Linked DNA regions of Homo sapiens: all the other regions are linked to region 3. The links are contacts of gene promoters, found by promoter capture Hi-C in blood cells and fetal thymus (Javierre and others, 2016). All regions are on one chromosome and are shown on one strand. The core of a region is centred on a gene start or on the middle of the fragment in contact, and the rest is flanking DNA. Distances in the headings are between cores, read along the strand shown.

Region 1 (3,679 bases), core at 1,048-3,547, 780 kb before region 3:
AAAAAATATATATCCAGGTTATCACATTAGGGACTTCTATATCTTAATTCTGTAAATAATGTCCTCTGTCCCACATTTAACAAGCACTTTTGTGGCAGGCACTAAGAACAATATATATAAAGGAAGGTTCTTGACCTCAAGGAGCTAATAAAATAGTGAAGCAATTACAGCATAATTCCGCATAATATATCCTAACAATTTAAGCAGGAAATGGGCACAAACTAAATTCACCACACTCAAGGCAGTGTAAATGTTCTCCCAGTCAAAGACAAAGCAGATGTGACTAACAGAATGGTACCTTACTAATTACCTAAGCTAATTTACTAGTAGCCCAAATTCAGCTGGATTCTGTTTAGTTGAGGAGGAGACAGTACAATTTCAGTACACTGTATAAATTCAGGATTCGTTTAGTTGAGGAGGAGACAGCATAATTTCAATGGTATGGATATCCAGGAAATAAGCAAGTCTTGCCAGCCTAAGTAAGAGCACCCCAGGAGGAAAAACAAAGAAACATATTATGAAAAGGATAAAACAGACAACAGGTTGAGTTCTTTTAGGAAGCAAAGATGAATACAGGGGACCGATTCAGCATGTAAGGGGCTTGGAAGTCACCACTCTGTCCTAACAAGTAAAAAGCTGAACAAACTGAAAAACCAACAACTTTTCGTAGATCCAGCAGAAAAGCAGGGTCACAGGGCAAACTGCTCTCCCCGAACTGGAGAGAGAGAGGGGGGTAATACAGACAATCACAACTTACTGGAACAGAAACCCACAAACAGAAACCTCCATGGGAACCAGAGGAGAAACCTGTGCTGGAACCAGTGCTGGGGTGGGAGAACCTGAGCTGTAATTGACGAATTGCTGGCGGCTCAGTGTGGGCAAGTCTGAGAGTCAAAAACTCCAGGGAACCCTGTCATTGCAGGCATGGAGAGGATGTCCTCACACTTCTGTGAGTTTTAGTTCCAGGAGTTCTTCAAAGTTCTCACAGTGAATATTGGAGAAAAACCCCCCAGTCCTTCCAGGAGTAGGAGGGTAAAAGTAACCATTTCTAAATAAGCCAGAGTAGTCTGTTTTTTTTGTTTTGTTTTGTTTTTTCCCCTTCAAGATGGAGTCTAATTCTGTCACCCAGGCTGGAGTACAGTGGCGCAATCTCGGCTCAATGCAACCTCCGCCTCCTGGGTTCAAGTGATTCTCCCGCCTCAGCCTCCCGAGTAGCTGGGATTACAGGTGTGCGCCACCACACCACACCCAGCTAATTTTTGTATTTTTAGTAGAGATGGGGTTTCGCCATATTGGCCAGGCTGGTCTCAAACTCCTGACCATAGGTGACCGCCCACCTCGGCCTCCCAGAGGGCTGGGATTACAGGTCTGAGCCACTGCACTGGCCCAGAGTAGTCTGTTCTCAACAAAGCCCTCCCTCAGAAGAAACTATTTTACAGAGCCTAATCTACTGGAGTTTTATCAGAGCCCAGCTGACTCTGGAAAAAGGAAATACACAACTCTAGCCCTCTAGCCATCCTGTCCCATCTAAGGAGGGGAAAACTGAGGAGCGTTAGTAACATTCACAGTCCAGGGGCAAAGTTCGCTAAAAGACCTAATCATAGGACTATAGAATGTGTCCCCTCTGCCCATACCTAAAGGCCTATTTACTGCAGTTCCTTTTACCCAGGACATCATTTCCAGTTATTAACAAAAAAACCACAAGGAAAAACACACAGTTTGAAGAAACTGAGCAAGCATCAGAACCAAAGTCAGATATACCAGAAATGTTGAAATTATCGGACCAGCAATTTTTAAAAATTATATGCTAAGGGCTCTAATGGAAAAAGTAGACAACATGCAAGAACAGATGGGAACATAAGCAGAGAGGTGGAAATTCTAAGGAAGAATCAAAAAGGAATGCTAGCGATAAAAAGAACCGCTATAACAGAATGCCTTTGATAGGTTCATTAATAGATTGAACACGGCTGAGGAATCTCTGAGCTTTAGGACATGTCAATGGAAACCTCCAAAACTGAAAAGCAAAGAGAAAAAAAGACAGGAAAAATGGAATAGAATAACCAAGAACTGCAGGATGACTACAAAAGATGTAACATACACATAATGGGAATACCAGAAAGGGAAGAATGAAAGGAGCAGAAGAAATAATAATGGCTAAGAATTTCTCCAAATTAATGTTAAACACTAAACTACTTATCCTGGAAGATCGGAGAACACTAACCAGGATAAATGCAAAAACAAAACAAATAGACACCTCAGCCAATCATATTGAAACTACATAAAATCAAAGATAACGAAAAAATATTGAAAGAAGCTGTAGTGGGGGCCTTACCTACAGAGAAGCAAAGAATGACACCTGACTTCTCACAAACCACAGAGAGTGCACCGAAATATTTAGTGTTGAGAGAAAATCATCACCAACCTAAAACTATATCCTGAGAAATTATCCCTCAAAAGTGAAAGAGAAATAAGGACTTTCTCAGACAAACACAAATTGAAGGAATCTGTTTTCAGTAGACTTCCCTTGCAAGAAATGCTAAAAGAAATTCTTCAGAGAGGAGGAAAATAATTTAGGTCAGAAACTCCAATCTACGTAAAGAAAGGAAGAGTACTGGAGAAGGAATATGTGAAACTGTAATAAAAACTTTTTCTTGTTAATTTAACAGATAACACTTTGTACAAAAATAATAACGAAGTATTCAATTATAGATGCTTATTATGTATATGCGTATAAAAATGCACGCTTATGAATGCTTATGCATAAGTGAAATGAATGACAGCAATGGTACAAAAGACTACAGGAAAGCATTTCTTAGCTTGAGCTGCCATAACAAAATACCACAGACTGGGCAGGTTAAACAACAGAAATTGTTTTCTCATGGTTCTGGAGGCTAAAAGTCCAAGATCAAGGTGCCAATATGGTAAGTTTATGCTGAAAGCTCTCTTTCTGGCCTATAGACAACCACCTGCTCACTGCGTCCTCCCATGAGGGGGTGAGGAGTGACCATAAGCTCCGGTATCTCTTCTCATACGGACACTAATCCCATCACTAGGGCTCCACTGTCAGGACCTAATTTAAACCTAATTATCTCCCAAAGGCCTCATCTTCAAACACCAACACATTGGGGTTGGGGCTTCGACATAGGACTTTAGGGGGGATAAAATTCACTCCAGGCATTCCACCTTTAACCTCCCAAATTCATGTTCTTCTCAAATGCAAAATACATCCATCCCATCTCAACAGCCCCAAAAGTCTTAACTTATTCCAGTACCAACTCTAAAGTCTAAAATCTAAAGTCTCATCTAAATATCACCTAAATCAGATATGGATGAGACTCAAGGTATGAATCATCCTGAGGCAAAAATTCCTGTCCAGACTCATTCTCTTAATTATCAATGCTGTTCTCTTTATACTATAAGAAGTCTCCTGAGCAATACTGTAAGTCAAGAAATCCTAAAACCTAGCTGCTCAGCTCAGTCACCTAGGGAGATTTATGCTGGTTTTAACTTAGTTTCCCAGGCTGTATCCCCAGTCATAGTGATTCAATGGATTTTGGTCAGTAAATCACATTCTTAATATGTAATATTGATTCAACAATGGCAACAATTTTTAAAAAATTAATAAGTTGTCACTATTAAGTTGAATTATATGAAACTGACATTTTTGGTTAAGTCAAAA
Region 2 (3,813 bases), core at 945-3,444, 560 kb after region 3:
AGGTCCTTATATAGGATGACTGGCGTTTGTTCTAAACCAGCAACCCCATCCCAGAGGTGGCCTAGCTTCCGTGGGGCTGATGTACATTCCTTGGGAACTAAAAATGTTCTTGTCCTCTGGGTAGAAGTCAACAGTGGAGGTCAGATGCCCTGCGGAATTGCTGGGTTGGCGAGGGAAGAAGCATGTGCTCCAGCTGTCCCTGGAACACGGTGGCGGGGTGCCCCAAGTGGGCATGGCCCTGGTGGAGGAGGGAGGGAGGAGAGTGGCTCTGGGGTCTGGGTGCAGCTTTGTTGCTGTGTGACCTTAGCTTACTCGCCCTTTCTCCCTGGGTAAAATGAGGCTGTCATCACTAGGAGAGCTCTGAGACCTCCCCAGTCCAGCGCCCCGTTGTTTCCCATGTGCTGTTGCTGCTCTGGCCTCTGTGAGCCCCGGGAGTCCGCAGGGAGCCAGGCTGGTGATTCTACACCTTCCCGAGGAGGAGTCCCACCTCCCGGTTGAGCAGACTGCTCCTGATCATCCTCTCCAGAGAGTGGGTGTGGGGATAACTTCAGCCAGTGGCTATGCTTCAGTCATTTCTGCCAGGTGTGACATGACTGCCTGGCCTGGCGTTTTTTCACATAGCAGCTTGCCTTGCCTCCCTCCAGCAGCTTTGGTCCCTATTTTAGCGGATGCCTCTTCTGAGAGGGAAGTGCATTGGACCTGGAGGTGGAAGATCTACGCTTAGCACGGGCCTGGCTCCTCTCTCATTGACTGGCCTTACGCCGACCACAAATAATTCCCCTTACCCAGAGTCTTTGAGGGTGAAATGAGGCGATGGGGGGAAAGTGGCTTCTAACCTGTGAAACACCCTGCAGATGACAATGGTTTCATACCAGGCCCATAGGACTTCCCAGCATAGGCCAAGGCCACTGCCTCATTTCCCTCGGCCCCAGGAATTTCTTCCTTTCTGGAGTGCTTCATCCAACTGGGTGCCCAGGCAGGAACCCCTAAGGGCCAATGAGTTGTCTGCAGAGAAGTTCTAGCAGTTCAGGAGAGGAGCTCACCTTAGGCTGGGGCTTGCGGCAGGGATGTTAGCAAAGGCTCCAGGAAAGAGGCCTGTGGTGAACTCGGGGCAGGGCTTTGGAGGGAGGGCTTTGCGGCAAGCAGAGGGGAGGTGAAGGCGTGGGTAGAGTACATCAGGGCAGCATGGAGAAGGCTGGGTGGCTTGGGGGAGGGTGGCGATGGGGTCATAACAAAAACATAAGAAGGTGGTTTGGGGCCAGGTGATGGATGCCTTGGGAACTGCTAGCCCAAGAAGTTTGGGCTTTTTTTGCAGGAGGGCAGCCACTGAGGATTCTTGAGGAGAGAGAGACCATAGAATGAATGAAAGAGTTGGAAAGACTTTAAAGCTCTGGGAGGCTGAATCCTTTATTTCGCTGGAAGAAAAACTGAATGCCAAGAGGGCCTCACTTTCCCCAAAGCTATACAGCCATCAGGGGCAATGCTGGGATTCCCCCATGGATCTCTTGACTCCTAATACAGTGCTCTTTCTGATATGCCATCTGGCTCCATAATGAACATTGTGTTCCAGGAAAATCAGTCTGCGCTGAACAGGATGGAATTGGGGCAGGACGTCCAGTGAGGAGGACATTGAGGCAGTAGAGCAGTTGATTGCCGAATGACCACCTACCCTGACTTAAAAGATCAACCTCAGGGAGGATTGGAGCTTTCTAGAGTCTCTTGGGACAGCAGAAGCACAGGCCGGGTTGGACTGAATCTTTAAGTGGACATGAGGGACAAAGTACCTCCTGTTGGTAAACATCTCACCACCAACCCACTGTGGTGGCTAAAATCCCACCTTTAGTCCCAGCAACATATGAGCATGTCACCAGGAGGTCTTCACAGGCCTGTCTGCCACCTGAGTGTAGACATCTTTTGGCCCTGGAGCCCAGAGAGGCTGAATGTGGAGAGGGTGGAGAGAGGTCTGTAGTCCTCAGAGAAGACTTGCAGCTTTTTCAGAGCCACCAACCCATAAAAAAAAAAATCCCCAAACAGAAAAATCCTAACTGTGGTGACCAGGTACCTCCTGAGACATGAAGCCTCCACTTACCTGGACCCTGGAGGCCTCTCCGGGCACAGCTGCCAATGTTGATCTTAGATAAGACCACCAGCAAGTAAACATCCACTGTGCAAAGCTGTGTTATCTTTGGGGAACTGAAATGTCCCCTGGGAGTTGGAAACTCCCCTAGCCACATACCACAGAGTTGAGGAAGGAAGAGCTGATGGACGGAAGAACCATGGCGGGAGGAGTCATCCGGAAGCTACCTCGCTGCCCTGTCAGTTACGGAACAGAGGAGAGATGCCGGCTGGAGGACACAGCAAATTTGAACCAAGAGGAGCTTGGAGGAAGCCCGAGCGACCTGGAGGGGACTGGCTGACCTTCCTCATTCTTTTCAAGTGTGAATAATAACCAAGCCCAGTTTGGCAACTCCTTGAGGGTGAGGACGAAGCCCCATTCTCCTTTTTGGAACTTGGTGGGGCTCAGGAAGCAGGTTCTCTCCAGTCGGTGGCTTTCCTTTCTGTTGCGGGTCTCTTGAGGGCCTGCCTTCATGAAGGCACATGAGTGACTCATCATTTGTGAATTAATTGCTATATGTGAAGGGCATCTGAGAACAAATTATCTTCATAGACTTTTCATTATAATTTTATTTGTACTGATAATTAGTTGGTTTAGCAAGCTCTTTTTTCATAGATTTGGCTAAACTTCAGTCTGAAAGAGGCAAATTCTGGGGTTCTAGAAAGAGATTTTATTCTTTGATATAGGGCTATTTGGTGGGGTTGCTTTTTGTCCTAGTTGTAGCTTTTATAATTTCGAGATTCACATTTTGCAATAGAAATATACAGGCATACCTTGGAGGCATTACAGCTTTGGTCCCAGACCACAATGAAGCAAGTCACACGAATTTTGTTGGTTTCCCAGTAAATATAAAACGTATGCTGATACCATACTATAGTCTAAGTGTGCAACAGCATATGTCTAAATGAATATACATATATATTTTTTTGAGACAGGTTCTTGCTCTGTCACCCAGGCTGGAGTGCAGTGGCACTATCATGGCTCACTGCAGCCTCCACCTCCCTGGACTAAGATGATCCTCCCACCTCAGGCTCCCAAGTAGCTGGGACTACAGGTCACACCACCACACCCAGTTAATTTTTGTATTTTTTGTAGAGACAGAGTCTTGACATGTTGCCTAGGCTGGTCTTGAACTCCTGGCTTAAGTGATCTGCCTGACTTTGCCTCCCAAAGTGCTGGGATTACAGATGTGTAGTCTTTGAAATCCAGTGTGTGTTCTTACAGTGCATTTCAATTTGGACTAGCCATGTTTCAAATGCTCAGCAGCCACATGCGGCTCATTCTAGATAGGCGGCCATCGCTCTTAAATCCTCCCTGACCTTAGCCATGCTCTCTCATCCCTCCTCTTCGCCAAGCTCTGCCTCTCTCACTGGGGCTTCCCTAGCCTCCGGCCATCTTGGGGCCAAAGCTCTAACACTTTGCCTCTCTCGTGTCTTCTGTTCCCCTCCAGTGGCTTCTGCTTTCTGCCTTAAAATACACCCAGGTTCCTAATCCTGAAAACGTCTGTTGTGCACCGATCCCACCCTCCCCTCGTGTTACCATCTCCATTTCCTTCCCCTTTCCTTGTGTCCTCTTCTTTGCTGTGTCCTGGCCCCTCAAAACTTGACCTTGCCTCTCATCCCCACTGCTGTACTGAAACTGTTGTCTCAGCGTTGCTGATCATCCAGCCTTTTAGTCTATGGACCGCTAAGAGCCAT
Region 3 (3,490 bases), core at 209-2,708:
TGAACATTCACTACATGTCAAACCGTGTGCTAGGTGATTTACAAGCATCATCTCATTTAATTCTCACAACAACTCTGAGAACAGGTACTATATATTATTCCCACTTTACCCATAAGGAAACTGAGGCTCTGAGAAGATGAGTCATTTAAGATAATTCATCAGTTTGACTTCAGATCCCAAGATCTTAATCAGCAAACCTCTTCCTGGCATGTCGATTTTATTGGGATGGTTTTTAGAAAACATACATTTTATTGGGTCAAATGCAAAGTTTGCATTAAGAAGATAGAAGCTTTCAGATGCTTTGGGCTTTGTCCCAGAACCCTGGAAGACCTTTCACGCTCCTCTTTGATGACAAAACTGGAGAAGTATTGTTTAAGGATGTCTCCCCCTGCCATGCAAGTTCTCTGAAACCCTCAAGAACTAACAACAGAGTTTTCGAGCTCTGTTTTACAAATAAGGAACTTAAAGAACTGAACTTGCCCACGTTCACATTGCTAGGAGGTGACCCACTCACATTAAATCAGCTGTTTTGGCACCATGTTCCAATCAGCAACCCGCAGCACATCCCTGCCAACCCACAGATTTCCCACCGCTTTACCAGACAAGCCCTTTCACACCCACCGGCCCCAAACCAGCCCCTTCTCTCAGACCCATACCTTTTCTCTAGCACCTCTCCTTTACTTTTCCCAAGTTTCTTCCCTTTCCTTCAGTCACGCCCCGTTATCCCTAATCGGTCCTGCCCTTTCCCCACAGCTCCGCCCCTGCCTTACCAAGCCCCGCCTGCTCCCTTCAGCGTCGCATCGCTTTTTCCAACTTTGTTCTTTATTTCTAGTCCAGCTCCACTTTCCAGGCTCATCCAAAGCTCCGCCCTTTCTCTCGCGAGTACTCTTCTTCTGTTTAGCCCCACTTTTTACCCCGCTATTCTAACAGGCCCCCGCTGTGCGGTAGCCCCGCCCCCTCCCACAAGCCCCGCCCCACAGACCGGTCTAGTCTCCAGCCCCGCCCCGGTCCTACCCATAACTACCGGTCCCTTAGGCTCCAGCCCGCATCCCTCTTGCTCCCGGCCCTGCCCCCAGCCCCGCCCCGTGACTCTGGCCCCGCCTCACCGCCTTCCTCCGAGACCAAGGCCAGGTCCCTCCCGCAGCCGCGGCGCCAGCAGGAGGCAGGGAGCGGATAGGGAGGAGGCAGAGGGGGAGGGGAGAAGGGCGGGCTCCTCACGCCCAGCCCCGCGCTCACCGTCCGTGGTTGCAGATTCGCCACAAACCGCCCGACGACCCCAGATCCCGAGTACGGTGACTTCAGTCTCCAGAAACTCCACTCTAAGATGGGAGAGCTAGAGAAGCCCTGTGGGGTGTCCAGGGTCCTTTCTGAATCCCGGAGCACGGTCTTTCGAGCCTCAGCGGGCGGGCGGGGATCCGTGGCGAAAGTGCAGCTCAGTAGCGCCGCGGCGCCACGTTTACCCTGCGCAGACGCCGTCGCCGCCGCTGCTGCCGCCGCCGCTGCCACAGCCTTTGCCGCCACGGTCTCCGCCGCCGCTGTCCTCGCGCTGCCTCTGGGAGCCTCCATTGTTCCAGCAGCGCCCGGTCCCGAGACCGGGCATCTTGGGGGCTCGCGAAACGGGCGGCGGCCGACGGAGTTGAGACCCCAGGGCGCCGGCGGGACCAGGAGCGGCAGGGGTCAGCTCAGGAATCCCGGGGAGCCGGGACCAAAGCGTGGGGCGGCAGGGGGCCGGGGTGGCGAGGTCTACGGTCTCCGGAGTTGGGGCTCCCCCTTCCCGGCCCGACTTTCCCCGCCGACCTCCCCAAGTGGGGTCGGAGCCCCGGCGGGCGCCCCCGGCGATGAGCCCGGACTCGAGGTGGCCGGTGAGTGCGGGCCTGGGACCAGGGCGGGAGTGGCCGGCAGGGAAGGGGTAGGCTACGTTCGTGGGACGCGCACTGAGCCGCGTGGCCCGGGAACCTCTCTGGCAACTCCAGTTGGGAGAACTGACAGTGCATTGCTTCCCAGCAGGCATCCTGGGGCAACAGTGTATCTTTCGGGGCTGCCCGGGCTAGTGGCAGGCGGGGAGCCTTGTTTCACTTGTTACACTTCCACAAAGGGGAAACGCCGCCGCATCCGGAGAGTGGGCTGCGGGCACTGCCGGGGCCCAGCCCTATCCCTCCGGCCCCCGCCCCTTACTTCCTCCAGCCCCCTGAGCTTCAGGGGCAGATGCAGCCGCCATTCTCCTTGGGCCCTCCCCACGGGCTTTCTGGTCTAAGTTCTCGTCTCCCTCGCCTGTGCCTCTGCTGCCGGGTTCCAAGGGGAGATTGCTGATTCGCTGTGCTACTTTGGGAACCATTCACCCGGGACCCAGCTTGGAAAGAGGAGAGCTTGTTTGTGCTTCGGTTGGTTTATGTTTAAAGACACAGCCGCAGGTAGGAAATAGAAGAGTTGCAGTTGGACGTGTAGCGTTACTGATGTGAAAATCAGGAGCCGTTGACAGTGGAGCTGGAGCAGCCCACTTGCCTGGTTAAGGCACAGGTGGAGAGGCCAAGAGGGGTTATTTTGTCAGGGAGCTCATGATAGCCCTGCCTGGCTGGGATGGTGCCAAGCCCCTAGCTGAATGGTTGAACTCAACTAGGCCGAGAGAAATTGGGGCAGTCTCTGACCAAGCTGGGCTTCCTGAGGCCTGGTGCCATCTGCTGTCTACACTCACCCAGGAATGTTGGGGAGCGGGGAGGGAGGGCCCCTGCGGACCAGCATGGAGCTGAGCATGCCTAGATTGTCGCGTTCGTGTTTGTACCCTTAGGGCCTGGCACTTGGTAGTCACTCAGTTGATGTGTGAGTGGGTGAACAGCTCAAATGTAATACAAGCTGCTGTCACTGACTAAATGACCTCAGTTTTCACTTTGTTTCACAGTACATCTCCTACCCAGTACCAGGGCCAGGCTCCCCATAAAGACCTCAAAAGTAAATGAATTCTTTCTGTGATCCAGTGATTTCTGCAGGAGTCCAACGCTAAAGCATTAGCCACCCACCCATTCAGCTTTCTACATGGCCTTCATCCCATCTGAGCTCTCAGTCTGGTGATCCCCTCATTCAGCTATTCGTTCAACAGGTCATTCATTCGTTCGCCAAAAACTGAATGTCCAGTGCATGCTAGGTACTGGGGATACAGAGGTGGATAGGCTCTGGTACCCTTGCTACACAGCTCCCAGTCCAGGGGGGAGACAACTTTCAGTATGTCAAGTGCTGTGGTAGAGGTGAGAATGGAATGCTGTGGAAACAGCTCCCCATGGGAGAGTCAGAGAAGTTGTGTCAGAAGTGACATTTGAGCTGGTTTTTTGAAGAATGAGTAGGAGCCCACCAATCAGAAAGTATGGAGGGCATTCCAAATAGGGATCATTTTGCAGGAATGAGAGGTTATAACATTCAGGGAATGGCAAGATCCCCTGTGTAGACAAAAACAGCTGTAACTTGTAAAAAGAAAGGAGGACTAGGGCCAGTCAGTGAA
Region 4 (3,614 bases), core at 610-3,109, 530 kb after region 3:
GCTGGGATTACAGGTGTGCGCCACCAAACCGGCTAATTTTTGTATTTTTAGTAGATATGGGATTTCTCCATGTTGGCCAGGCTGGTCTCGAACTCCTGACCTCGTGATCCACCTGCCTTGGCCTCCCAAAGTGCCGGGATTACAGGCATGAGCCACTGTGCCAGGCCACATTCCTCCATCTTACTCGTCTCCACCCATCCTTTACTACTGCTCTGCAGGCAGCTTCTCTCATCTTTAGCTCTTTCTTCTAGTACTTACCCCATGTTTCTAAATAATCTTTACTGTTGATCAGTTTTTCAGTTTTAGATGTCTGAGGACTTCTTGCTTGGGCGATGAGAATTTAGTTCTCTATACCTCCTTCAGAAGCACCCACACCCAGGGACACATTAGCTTCCCCTTTCTGCAGCCTCCCTGTGTGGCTTGAATACCTTTTGGGTTAAGTCTGTGTAAGATTTGTTACTGCCATGTTCACAGCTGAGTCGCCTTGTATACTCTGATCACATTTTCTTTCTTGTAAAACTTCATTTTCCTTAAAGTTCATCATTACTTTGTTTTTCCTTTGGTTTTCCTGGTACCTTTCACTAATTAATCCCCAAACTGCGAGAGCTGTAAAATCCTTCTCAATACTGTCAAAATAAGGAATCTGTTTCTTTTTTTTCTCTCTTGGAGGTATACGTCCTCAGCCCTCTGTTGTCCTGCTCTGGTCTGGACTGCCTGCCGTCAGGCCAGCTGGCAGCTGTCTCTCTGGAGCCTCCTTCACATTTCTCCCGGATTGAGTCTTCTGCTACCTATACTCTGTGTCTTCTCATGTTCTTCTTCCTTGGTTTACTCTCACATTTTGGTGGAATACTTTTTCTAGTAGCTTCTTGAGAAAGGGTACATGGAGAAACTTTTTTTGGTAAACATGTGTCTGAGATTGCCTTTATTTTACCTTTAACCTTGATTACAAGCTTGGTTGGTTTTGGAATTCCAGGTTGGAAATTGTTTTGTTTGGGATTTTGAAGGCATTGCTCCTTTTCTTCTGGGCTTTTTTTTTTTTTTTTTTTTTTTTGAGGTGGAGTCTCGTTCTGTCTTGCCCAGGCTGGAGTGCACTGGTGTGATCTTGGCTCACTGCAGCCTCCACTTCCTGGGTTCAAGTGATTCTCCTGTCTCAGCCTCCCGAGTAGCTGGGATTACAGGCACACGCCACCACACCTGGCTAATTTTGTATTTTTGGTAGAGACAGAGTTTCATCATGTTGGCCAGGCTGGTCTCAAACTTCTGACCTGAGGTGATCCACCTGCCTAGGCTTCCCAAAGTACTGAGATTACAGGTGTAAGCCACTTCGCCTGGCCTCTTCTGGTTTTCTTGATGTCTGAAGCTATGCTGGTTCCTGAACCTTGGTATATGATTTTTTATTTTTTATTTTCTTTTGCTTTGAGACAGAGTTTTGCTCTGTCACCCAGGTTGGAGTCCAGTGGCGTGATCTCAGCTCACTGCAATCTTCACCTCCCAGGTTCAAGCGATTCTCCTGCCTCAGCCTTGTGAGTAGCTGGGATTACAGGCATGTGCCACCACACCCGGCTAATTTTTGTATTTTTAGTAGAGATGGGGTTTCACCATTTTGGTGAGGCTGGTGTCGAACTCCTGACCTCATGATCCGCCCGGCTCAGCCTCCCAAAGTGCTGGGATTACAGGTGTGAGCCACCGTGCCCAACCTGTATTTTTTTTTTTTTTCCCTCTGTGGAATCTTGTAGAATATATTTTGATCTCAGGGCTCTGAAATTTCATGGTGGTGGTGTCTACTTTGCTTAGCATGGGACATTCCCTTTCAATCTAGAAACCCTTGTACTTTAGCTGTGGGAAAAGTTCGTGAATTACTGTACTTCGCTGATGTTTTCTTTCCGTATTTTTCTTCTCTCTTTCTCTCTCTAGCTTCTCTACCTTCTTTCTCTTATTTGGATGTTGGATTTTTCAGGACTGGTCCTGTAATTTTATTGCCTTTCTCCCTTGTTTCTAGCCAATTTCTTGCTTTACTTTGTAGGATATTTCCTTTTCTTTATCTTCCAACCCAGCTGTTTATTTAGTTTTACTTTTCTACTGTCATGCTTTTTATTATCCAAGAGCTCTTTTGTTTTTTAATAACATCTCTGTTCTTGTTTCATCTTCTGTTATCTCTTTTAGGGAGTTCATGGTAGTTTTTTGGCTTGGTTTTAGTTTTCTTTAAGTTGCTTCTTTCCGTTTCTTTTGATCTCTTCTGTGTTAGAGGCTGCCTTCACATGTCTGGTAATCTTTGGTTGTCTGTTTATGATCAAGAATGGGAGGATTAAAAAGCTGTTTGGAAGCTCTGAGCGTAAAGACTTTGAGCTTTGCTTTGGGATGATCGGGAGAATATAACCCTCTTCCCCTTGCCATGTCACTGCTTTTAGGAAAGCCTCGAGACTGGTCACCTTGCCCAGAGGAGTGTTTTTCAGCCTGCTTAGGAGGAAAGGTGGCTGGGAGCTGGGTAGCGAAAGGGGCGGCTGCGGGGGCGGCGTCAGCATTCACTTAATCTTTGTCTTTTTGGTGCAGTACCAGTGCCCTCCACTGAGCTGACCAGGCCTTATTCTAGAGATCCTCTTGTTTTACTGTCTTCAAACAACTCACCTTCTCTGAGTATGAGGAGGGAATCTGGGATCTAACTCATTGGAAACCAGATTTCACCCTGTCCTCCTCCTTTTAATGTTCTTCTGTAACTCCAGTTCCTCCAGTTCCCAAGGTGCCCAGTACCGCGAGTGCCTGCTCTGTTCTAAGCTTTCCTGGTGCCTAGCTTAGGTCTCAGCCTTCTCTTGGTCTGCCAGTGAGGTGTTATTTGGCCATCTGCTTTCTAGCCTCCAGTGCGTGATCACTGTAGTCTCTTGTTCTTCCTGTTCTGGTGTTTTTGTTATTGTAGAGGGGTTTTATTTGTTTTTTGTTTGGTTTTTAGATTCTTTAGTTTTAGTGAGGTTTCAGGAAAGAGTAAAATAAGTCGAATTTGTTCAGTACATCCTTAGCCTAGAAAAGTTCTGGGAAAATTTCTTGATTATTTGATTTCTTGTCTGTTTCTTCTTTTTCTGGACCATCTATTTTATGCTTGGTCTTTCGGATGGAAATTCCAATTTTCTTTTCTTCCCAGTGAATCCTTTTTAAAAAATTTTTCTGGATGGTTTCTTCAACTTTATCTTCTTTTTTTTTTTTTGAGATAGAGTCTCACTCTGCCACCCAGGCTGGAGTGCAATGGCTTGGTCTTGGTTCACTGCAACCCCTGCCTCCCAGGTTCAAGCGATTCTCCCGCCTCAGACCCCTGAATTGCTGGGACTATAGGCGCATGCCACCATGCCTGTCTAATTTTTGTATTTTTAGAAGGGACGGGGTTTCATTTTGGCCAGGCTGGTCTCGAACTCCTGACCTCAGGTGATCTATCCGCCTCGGCCTCCCAAAGTGCTGGGATTACAGGCGTGAGCCACCGCGCCTGGCTCAAGTTTATCTTCTAACGTTTATGTTGATTTTTTTTTTTTGGTCTTTTTTTTTTTTTTCCTGTGCGTGGTTTTTTTTTTTTTTTATTGCTGCCAATTTTTTTTTCTTTTTTGTCTTTTTGAGACAGAGTCTCACTCTGT

The links. The method cuts DNA at HindIII sites, captures the fragments that hold promoters and counts their contacts. A CHiCAGO score of 5 or more calls a contact.
Region 1: a fragment that was not itself captured here is called in contact with the fragment with the promoter of BRPF1 in region 3 in 1 of 17 cell types (neutrophils); the score reaches 5.0 in neutrophils.
Region 2: the fragment with the promoter of GHRL here is called in contact with the fragment with the promoter of BRPF1 in region 3 in 6 of 17 cell types (monocytes, naive CD4 T cells, total CD8 T cells and 3 more); the score reaches 7.2 in monocytes.
Region 4: a contact is called between a fragment that was not itself captured here and the fragment with the promoter of BRPF1 in region 3, in 9 of 17 cell types (monocytes, total CD8 T cells, naive CD4 T cells and 6 more). The highest score is 10.1, in monocytes.

The regions. Positions count from the first base shown.
Region 1 is chr3:8,948,947-8,952,625 of GRCh38, forward strand. The region is part of intron 2 of RAD18 (RAD18 E3 ubiquitin protein ligase); the gene reads right to left. Among named protein-coding and RNA genes, the nearest start is that of RAD18, 13 kb to the right of the region's middle. The HindIII fragment of the contact is 5,111 bases long and covers 1-3,679 here.
Region 2 is chr3:10,290,753-10,294,565 of GRCh38, forward strand. GHRL (ghrelin and obestatin prepropeptide) reads right to left here and starts at 2,195. Exons shown (of 6, transcript NM_016362.5): 1 at 2,090-2,195; 2 at 1-699. It overlaps GHRLOS (ghrelin opposite strand/antisense RNA), which reads left to right. Exons shown (of 6, transcript NR_073568.1): 6 at 1,316-2,697. RefSeq lists enhancers at 1-441, 1,953-2,022, 2,033-2,282, 2,093-2,387. The HindIII fragment of the contact is 7,186 bases long and covers 1-3,813 here.
Region 3 is chr3:9,730,277-9,733,766 of GRCh38, forward strand. It overlaps BRPF1 (bromodomain and PHD finger containing 1), which reads left to right and starts at 1,459. Exons shown (of 14, transcript NM_001003694.2): 1 at 1,459-1,862. RefSeq lists enhancers at 895-1,454, 2,015-2,574 and silencers at 918-1,277, 1,748-1,797, 1,808-1,937. The HindIII fragment of the contact is 5,381 bases long and covers 288-3,490 here.
Region 4 is chr3:10,261,501-10,265,114 of GRCh38, forward strand. All of the region lies in intron 3 of TATDN2 (TatD DNase domain containing 2), which reads left to right. Among named protein-coding and RNA genes, the nearest start is that of TATDN2, 15 kb to the left of the region's middle. RefSeq lists a silencer at 2,435-2,624. The HindIII fragment of the contact is 1,822 bases long and covers 949-2,770 here.